2 separate regions of the Homo sapiens genome follow, and region 2 is linked to region 1. Evidence: promoter capture Hi-C in 16 types of primary human blood cells and fetal thymus (Javierre and others, 2016). All regions are on one chromosome and are shown on one strand. The core of a region is centred on a gene start or on the middle of the fragment in contact, and the rest is flanking DNA. Distances in the headings are between cores, read along the strand shown.

Region 1 (5,006 bases), core at 816-3,315:
TCATTCATGAAACAAACTGGTTCATAAGTACAAAGGCTAAGCTGCTAGTAACTTTAGAAGATCTGATTTATAAAATCAATGTATTCCAGATATGTGAACTTGAGAATTTAATACTTTCTCTGCTCCTCTAGTGATTCATATATACAATTAGGAAGTTGGCTATGTGATCTGTGAAGATGTCTCAACCATTTCTGATTCTAGAGATAATTTACCTATGATATATAATATTCATACTCATTATGGCAGCCTTAATAATGTTCCCCAAAGGTGGTCATATCTTAACTTCTGAAACCCATAAACATGTGGCCTTATGTGATTTTTTTACAAACTTCACAGTGATTAAATTAACATGTTGAGATGGTAGGATTATCCTAGATTATCCAGGTAGGTACAGTGAGAACCTTTCAGTTGTCATAGAACATAGTAAATTTTTAAAGAAAAACAATAAAAATTGTAGCTTATATTATTATGTGGGTAGTTTTTTGGCAAACAAATAATTTGAATTCTAGAAGTGTCAACTGATGTGTACTGGGGGCAGGAGAAAAATGATAGACAATCAATAGTGGTTATGAGGAAATGAATGTCCTTCTGACAGATTCAAATTCAAATAAAAAGATTGTGCATAAACACATCTGCAGCCTACAGTCAGCCCCCAAGACTACGAACCTCCAACCCTCAATATCTGATATCCTGCTAAGTGTTGAGAGTAATGACAGGAAGAATGTGTCTAAGATAAAAGGGGATTGTTTCAACACAAGGTAAAATGTAGTTTGAAAGGGAGAAATTAAACACAACAGGACTTGAAGATCCCTGGGTTCTCATGCTAGATGGCTGACACAGTCATTCACCTGGCAAAGAATGGATAGAGTGAGAAATGCTGAAGGAAACAAAAGACTGGACATAGTGTGTAAGAAAATACAGATCAGACAGAGTAAAACTGCCAACTTGAAAACCCACCCACACCTTCAGCCCTGTGTGTCACCTCTATGTGTTCTACACCAACATATGCACCACCATTCCATCCTAATAATAATATTATAGCTAGCACTCATCAGGACTGTGCTGAGTGCCCACATTTTGCCAACAGCTGAGCATTATCTCATTTAACTCTCAAAATAATCTCTTGACATAAGTCCTAATATCATCTTCATTTGACTAATGGATAAAATGAGATTCAAGGAAGTTAGATTAAGACCAGTGTCTCCCAAGTAGTAAATGTTAGGGCTTATGAGTTAATACAAATCTACCTCTTCTTAGAGTCCTAGATTTTATACCCAATGCTATATCTTCTCTGCAGAATTGGCTTTGTTGGTTGCACATGACATTAATGCTGCATTTATTCCACTTCATCTAGTATGCATTTATTTGTGCATTGCTCTACTATGCAACTTCATATGTTATGCTTGGTATAATAGATAGAATGAGTACATATAAATAGATTAACATTTAAAATAATTCAAATTCATTAAAAGAATTTTAATTCTTTTAATTTAGGTTGGGAACCACCCTGATTGTGTCTAAAGCTTGGTTCTATCTACTGGTGCTTGTGTAATCTTGAATAAATTATTCAAACTCTTTTTTTCTACCAAGATACTTCATGTATAAATTGGCAATAATAACTAATTAAATAATAGGATTAATGAGAGAATTCTATGAGGATGTACATATAAAGCATCTGGCATGAGACAACTATAAGTGTGTTTAAGATGTTAGATTCAAAAAACATATTATTTGGGAGATAGATTCACTTCAGGCATGTGACATTGGACAACTCATTATTCCCTTCCTATGACTCCATTTACTCAGACACAAAATTAAGAAGCTGGAAAGATGATCCACGAAGACCCTTTTTCTTCAAAAGTCTATTACTGTATAGATAAGTTATCCACTAAATTGTGTTTTCATATCCATAATTTTGATCTAGGAAATATAGAAAACAAATCATTGCTATAATAAAATAACACATACATTTCAGTTTTGTGCAACTCTGTTTTGTTCATCACAGGGTTTTTCTTTTTTATCTCTCCTTGCTACAGAGTATCTTGTGATTCTAAAATAACATCCATGGAGAATAATACAGAGGTGAGTGAATTCATCCTGCTTGGTCTAACCAATGCCCCAGAACTACAGGTTCCCCTCTTTATCATGTTTACCCTCATCTACCTCATCACTCTGACTGGGAACCTGGGGATGATCATATTAATCCTGCTGGACTCTCATCTCCACACTCCCATGTACTTTTTTCTCAGTAACCTGTCTCTTGCAGGCATTGGTTACTCCTCAGCTGTCACTCCAAAGGTTTTAACTGGGTTGCTTATAGAAGACAAAGCCATCTCCTACAGTGCCTGTGCTGCTCAGATGTTCTTTTGTGCAGTCTTTGCCACTGTGGAAAATTACCTCTTGTCCTCAATGGCCTATGACCGCTACGCAGCAGTGTGTAACCCCCTACATTATACCACCACCATGACAACACGTGTGTGTGCTTGTCTGGCTATAGGCTGTTATGTCATTGGTTTTCTGAATGCTTCTATCCAAATTGGAGATACATTTCGCCTCTCTTTCTGCATGTCCAATGTGATTCATCACTTTTTCTGTGACAAACCAGCAGTCATTACTCTGACCTGCTCTGAGAAACACATTAGTGAGTTGATTCTTGTTCTTATATCAAGTTTTAATGTCTTTTTTGCACTTCTTGTTACCTTGATTTCCTATCTGTTCATATTGATCACCATTCTTAAGAGGCACACAGGTAAGGGATACCAGAAGCCTTTATCTACCTGTGGTTCTCACCTCATTGCCATTTTCTTATTTTATATAACTGTCATCATCATGTACATACGACCAAGTTCCAGTCATTCCATGGACACAGACAAAATTGCATCTGTGTTCTACACTATGATCATCCCCATGCTCAGTCCTATAGTCTATACCCTGAGGAACAAAGACGTGAAGAATGCATTCATGAAGGTTGTTGAGAAGGCAAAATATTCTCTAGATTCAGTCTTTTAATGATGCAAAATCATCACAATGTTATTTTATCTCACTTAGATCTACTTTATACAATAACTCAAATGTTAAAATGCTATATGGTATATAGAATGTAAAATTTCATCTAATATTATTTTTGTCTTTAGTTGAGAAACAGTTCTAAGTATCCACGAGTTAGAAAAATACGATGACAATTTCTCATGGAGTTTAATGAAATATGTGTTGTCTCTTGTCATATTTTAGCCAACTATGAGTCATTACTGTTTCTTAATAAACTAATATTTCAGGCATTAATAATTTTAGGTATTTGGTACAGCTTGTTCATATGACAATTTATAAATGGTAAATAACTATATTAGAATAATAATATATTAGAATTAAAAGGCAGAGATAATTCTTTTTTTTTTAAACTTAGCCTATGACTATCAAAGACATCTTGAACTGAGAGAAAGAAATAAAAGAATCTCTGTTTGCTATTTAAAATATAAAATCATGACCTGGCCCAGTGGCTCATGCCTGTAATCCCAGCACTTTGAGAGGCCAAGGCAGGTGGATCACTTGAGGTCAGGAGTTCAAAACCAGGCGAGACAACGTGATGAAACCCTGTCTCAACGAAAAATACAAAAAAATTAGCCAGACATGGTGGTGGATGCCTGTAGTTCCAGCTACTTGGGAGGCTGAGGCAGGAGAATCGCTTGAACCCAGGAGGCGGAGGTTGCAGTGAGCTGAGATCGTGCCGTTGGACTCCAGCCTGGGTGACAGAGCGAGACTCCGTCTCAAAAAACAGAAGATCATAAGTAATCCCCTAAAAATTATTAGAACTAATAAATCAATTCAGTAAAGTGTCAGGGATACAATAACAACATACCAGAATAAGTGGTATTTCTATATACTAGCAATAGGTAATCTAAAAATAAAATGAAGAAAATTCCATTTACAGAACCATCAAAAATAAGATGCACAGTAAAAACGATTACAAAAAGAACTGCAATGCTTATATTCTTAAAACTATAAAACCTAGTTGAAAGATGTTCAATAAAATCTAAATAAAGGAAAACATTACTTGATTATGAACCAACATTGTACAGCTGGCCACATTCCCTAATTGATATTCAGATTAAATACACTTCCTCTCAAATCCCAGCTGGCTTATTTGCAGAAATTGGTAAACTTATCCTAAAATTCATAAGGAAATTTAAAAGCCCAGAATAATATTTTAAAAAGAGAACAGAGTTGGAGTCCTCTCACACCACAATTTCAAAAGTTACAACAAAAACTGTAGTAATCAAGATAGTATGGTAATGGCATAAGAATAGACATATAGACTAATGGAATAGAATTGTGAACCCGGAAATAAACCCTTACATTTGTGGTCAGTTGATACCCTGTAAGAGGGCCCAAAGGACTCAATGAGGGCATGTAGCCTTTTCAACAAATAGTCTTGGGATAATTGAATGCCTACACACAAAAGAATGAAGTTGGACCCCTGTCTCACATCATACACAAAATTAATTCATAATGGACTACAAACCTAAATGTAAGAGCTAAAATTATATCATTCTTTGAAGAAAACAAAAGAGCTAATGGAAATAGCAAGGTACATTAGGTAATATTTTTAATGAAGAAAAATAAAGTGTAATCAAATTTATGAGTTGCTGAGGGGGACAAAAATTTATGTATGTATGTATGTATGTATTTATTTTTGTGATTTAAAAGTTTTCTTTATTCTTTTGAAAAAACAAAAGCAAAACCCAACAGCCACCCACATGAGAGAGAAGCAACAGGGACCCTAGAGTCCATTTAAAACAGTCCACTTTTTGCAAGAGATGTCTGAGTTTCAAAAATCTCATCACAACCCTCCTCCAAACTCTCTCCTAACCCACATCACTTGGCAGGGGGTAGAGGTAATATTATGAGAAGAATGGGAATCAGCTGGCCACAGCTTGCTGAAACATGTTTGTCTTTAGAAGCCTTCTGCAACTCTGAGGGGGAAATTCATCGCACTAAATGCTTATGGC
Region 2 (5,006 bases), core at 1,730-4,229, 91 kb after region 1:
AGAATGAACAGAAATAATGTATCTCAGGACATTCTTGCCAACTTGAGGAAGGCTACCTGGAAAGGAAAGAAGGAAAGTAAGAGAATGATGTGAAGTTTGACCTGGAAACACTGAGATCTTGGGGGAGGTTTCTGAGGATGATGAAGTGTTCTTATCTTGCGTCTGTCCTATGCAACATATTTAGTAACAACTTGGAATGGCAAGTTGATGGATGTGTTGATAAAACAATTTTCACTGTCTTGGAACCATGAACTCCACTATTTTATCTGTCTAGATCTATTTAATGTAACCATTCCTGTGATCTGTCACAGGCTGCACAATTTTTTAAAAGATATTTTAAATGAGAACACTTCCAGAGCTTAAATTGTGAGACACATCAAAACCATGTCATATGAGAAATAGCAAAAGGAAATTAGGAAGAAAAAAAAACAGGGCTACAGGATAACAGCGCTTTAGCATCTGGTGTTTTGAGTAGAAACGGCCATATTGGGCCGGGTGCGGTGGCTCACGCCTGTAATCCCAGCACTTTGGCGGGTGGATCACCTGAGGTCAGAAGTTCAAGACCAGCCTGGTCAACATGGTGAAAGCCCACCTCTACTAAAAATACAAAAAATTAGCTGGGCCTGGTAACAGGCACCTGTAATCCCAGCTACTTGGAAGGCTGAGGCAGGAAAATCGCTTGAACTCAGGAGGCAGAGGTTGCAGTGAGCTGAAATCATGCCATTGAACTCCAGCCTGGACAACAAGAGTGAAACTCCATCTAAAAAAAGAAAAAGAGAGAAAGAGAGAAAGAAAGAAAGAAAGAAAGAAAGAAAGAAAGAAAGAAAGAAAGAAAGAAAGAAAGAAAGAAAGGGAGAGAAAGAGAGAAAGAAAGAAAAAAATGGCCATATTGTGTAGAACAAAGGAACATTTAGAAGTTGCACAGAGGCAGGCTTCAGTTTATTACAGAAATGACTTTCAGAGAATCCAGTCTTTCCACAGCAGAGCAAGCAAACCAGGAGATAATGGGATTCCCTGGGCATTGAAGGTGACCCAGTGTCTACACACTGTATTGGAAATTCAAGTATCTAATAACTGGGGATCAAATTGGCCATTTTTGAGGTCCCTTCTTGCAGTTAGAATTTATGACTTATAATAGCTCTGATGTAAATATTTTAAATATTTTATTATAGGTGGAGTGTTCAGATTACAAATATTATAGAGAGCAGTATTCAGATGATAACTATATGACATGACGGATATGCTGATTAGCCTGATTTGATCATTCCACAATGTGTATATGTATCAAAGCATCACATTGTACAATTATTATTGTCAATTAAAAACAAAATATAACTTTTTGAAAAGATGATATGAATGTAATAGACTACAATAAAATTCTCAGAAGTTGTCATTGTGACACAGATTTCAAACTGTCTCTGTATAATAATATAGATGGTAGACTAGCCTTTAGATGTGTGCCTGTTGTAGACTTCCATATGCTATGTTCTTGAATGATAGAATTATTTCCACAGTGCAGCCCAAATCTTAGATACGAAGTTGTTTTATATAAGGACTCCTAAACAAGTGATTTGATTATGAATAATCTTAAATCTTTCATTGCACGGCAAAGTGAAAGTAGAAAATGAAGAAAATGTATAAATAACATTTTCAAGCTGTATTATCCATTCGACATATAATTATTGAGTGTCTAAAATTTGCACAACATTAGGCGTGCTTATATGGGATGATCAAAATGTAAATAAAGCAGAATGGCTGCCCTTGAATTTATAAATAATAATGATGATTATCTTTTATTAGGTTGCCATTACTATGGACAGTTCATTGTGATATCTTACATTACTATTGCATTTAAACTTACAGCAATTCTTTTGTCTAAGTATAATTATTATTCCCATTTTTCAAATACAGAAATTGAGGCTTAGAGAAATTATATATTACCTAACATCATGAAGCCAGGAGCTGGAATTATTCAAACCACATCACTTCCCTTCACTGCTGATTTCACATTGATACACTGCCCCTCCTCCACATGATATAGTATAATGTGCAATATGCTAAGTGGCATTAGAAACCACTCAAAGCATTATTGAAGTTCAGCTCAGGAAAAGAGACCAACTGAAATAGATACCACTTGTTAGCTGTTGGAAAAACAGCAGAGAGCCATTTCTGCCCTAGGTGCTCTTAATATTTGTAGCTGCCTACTCATATTTTTCCCCATGCTTGTGACACTGAGGTGGGTTTGTGTGAATAATTTTTACTGGAAGTGGTGCCTCTGGGTAGAGATTTCTCTTCAAATCTCATATTCAATGACAGGAAATATTAAAATTTGGCACGTTGAAACAAGGCCACACATTACGTCTTTTCCACCTTATTTAATATGAGTTGGTCTGGGAAAAGAAGTGGAATGGATGCCCTTTGCAAATTACGTCTGTTTATTAAAAGGTTTTTGTGGAAAAGATATGGCTTCTCCCAGATTTCACATTAGCTTCTGAGAAATATGAAAAATAGATGGGCTTAGACTTTCATAATCATGCCCAAATTCACAGGAAGGCTTCTTAGATTTCCAACATCTTGGGATCACATATTTTCTCATACCTCCACCCACGCCAGGAGGAAACATATGATAAAACACCTTGTTTCCTTCAAGCCTTATACTTCTGGTCAGATAAGGATAGAAAAACCAATAGTAGACAGGGCTTTGCTTTCTGAGGCGTATCCCTGACACTGTCATACTCAGGCCTCTGTTAGCCCTTTGCTTCATGGGTAATTTTTTTTCTTTCTTCACTTCCCATCACTAGTTTTGAGAGTTACATTGACATATCACTTATTCAATACCCCAGGAGATATTGAGTGTAAATATTAGGTTGGTGCAAAAGTAATTGCAGTTTTTGCCATCAAAATGGCAAAACCGCAACTACTTTTGCACCAACCTAATAAATATGTGAATGAATAAGTGAATGAATAAATGGCTTATCTCCCTTACCTTAATGATTTCTAGCCCCAAGAATTCCTTGACACTTTCTTGTGAATTTGCTGAAAGAATTGAATTTTCATTCCACTCTTTCTGAAAATAGCTCCTGAATCCCACCCACTTCCTCTGCCATTTTTCTTCAATAGTATCTTACATAGTTTGGCCCAACTCTTGGCAGGTAGAAATTGAGGTGTAGATATTAATGTGGAGAAACTTGGTAAAAGTGGAGAAAAGAAAAAGAACTAGTCTTGATCCTTCCAGTTTCTAACTCCAGTGCTGATTACATTAGATTCATGGCTCAGAGTGTAACTTAATTTATCTTCAGTCTGATTCTTCCTTCTGTACTTGTAGCTCTCCACAGAGAAATACTGTTAGCTCAATTACCTGGGAAAATCACTCAGTGTTGATGGAATTTGTGTTCCTGGCCTATCCCTCCTGCCCAGAACTGCATATTCTGTCCTTCCTTGGGGTCAGCCTGGTTTATGGTTTGATCATCACTGGGAACATTCTCATTGTGGTGTCCATTCACACAGAAACCTGTCTATGCACATCCATGTACTATTTCCTGGGCAGCCTTTCTGGGATTGAAATATGCTACACTGCAGTGGTGGTGCCCCATATCCTGGCCAACACCCTACAGTCAGAGAAGACCATCACTCTCCTGGGCTGTGCCACCCAGATGGCTTTCTTCATTGCACTGGGCAGTGCTGATTGCTTCCTCTTGGCTGCCATGGCCTATGACCGCTATGTGGCCATTTGCCACCCGTTGCAGTACCCTCTCCTCATGACATTGACTCTTTGTGTCCACTTGGTTGTGGCATCAGTCATCAGTGGTCTGTTCCTGTCCTTACAACTGGTGGCCTTCATCTTCTCTCTGCCATTCTGCCAGGCTCAGGGCATTGAGCACTTCTTTTGTGATGTGCCACCAGTCATGCATGTTGTTTGTGCTCAGAGTCACATTCATGAGCAGTCAGTGCTGGTGGCAGCCATACTAGCCATTGCTGTGCCTTTCTTCCTCATCACCACCTCCTACACCTTCATAGTGGCTGCTCTGCTCAAGATCCACTCGGCTGCTGGCCGCCACCGGGCCTTCTCCACCTGCTCTTCCCACCTCACTGTGGTGCTGCTGCAGTATGGCTGCTGTGCCTTCATGTACCTGTGCCCCAGCTCCAGCTACAACCCCAAGCAAGATCGGTTCATCTCACTGGTGTACACATTGGGAACCCCACTGCTCAACCCACTTATCTATGCCCTGAGGAACAGTGAGATGAAAGGGGCCGTAGGGAGAGTTCTTACCAGGAACTGCCTTTCCCAGAACAGCTAGGAAAGACGAGGGGACAGCCTATCAGGCAAGTATTTGGTTCCAGCCCACCAAATCTGTATGAAACTGAGATTTCTATCATTTGGTGTTAAAACTCATCTAAAAGATGGTATAAATTATATGGATACTGTTTATGTGTGCCAAAGATTTTTAAATATTTCTACAATTTGACTCTGTAATTTCTCTTCTTGGAAAGAACTACATGAGCATAAAGTGATATAAAGTGGCAAGTATAATACTTTGTCCAGTTACCAGCTGAGAAGAGATAGCTCACTCAATAGATTTTTAACTAAAAAAATATTTAAAAAGGGTTATCTGCAGTGGTTATAGGTAAGGAAACCAATAAAATGTGGCAGAGCACTAACACGCTAGCAATAGCAGGAAGCTTTCTCAGCCCTAGACTTAAAAGGTGTGCCATAGAAGAAGGGTGCAACATTATCAGAGTCCAGTGACAGTTAGATCTAAGCAGATAAACCACTTGGTAGAAACTGTGGCATCAGAAATAAAAAGAAACTATGACAGAACTATGGCCATGCAAGGAAGAGACAGGGAGGCAAATACCCCAGCGTCTCTTTGCTCAAAATCTTCCATTTCTTGCCCTGTCTCCATGGACCAAACTCAACTGGCAGCAAGAAGGGAGGGGAGACTGGGTGAATCAGTCCACAGAAGTCAGTCTCCTAGGGCACAGGGAAAGGCAGACAAAAACCTAGA

What was found. The method cuts DNA at HindIII sites, captures the fragments that hold promoters and counts their contacts. A CHiCAGO score of 5 or more calls a contact.
Region 2: a contact is called between the fragment with the promoter of OR10W1 here and the fragment with the promoter of OR5B17 in region 1, in 9 of 17 cell types (neutrophils, fetal thymus, naive CD8 T cells and 6 more). The highest score is 15.1, in neutrophils.

The regions. Positions count from the first base shown.
Region 1 is chr11:58,356,128-58,361,133 of GRCh38, reverse strand. OR5B17 (olfactory receptor family 5 subfamily B member 17) reads left to right here and starts at 2,065. Exons shown (of 1, transcript NM_001005489.2): 1 at 2,065-3,010. The coding sequence starts at 2,065. The coding sequence ends at 3,009. The HindIII fragment of the contact is 4,652 bases long and covers 1,526-5,006 here.
Region 2 is chr11:58,266,233-58,271,238 of GRCh38, reverse strand. It overlaps OR10W1 (olfactory receptor family 10 subfamily W member 1), which reads left to right and starts at 2,979. Exons shown (of 1, transcript NM_207374.3): 1 at 2,979-4,447. The coding sequence starts at 3,381. The coding sequence ends at 4,298. The HindIII fragment of the contact is 7,272 bases long and covers 1-4,682 here.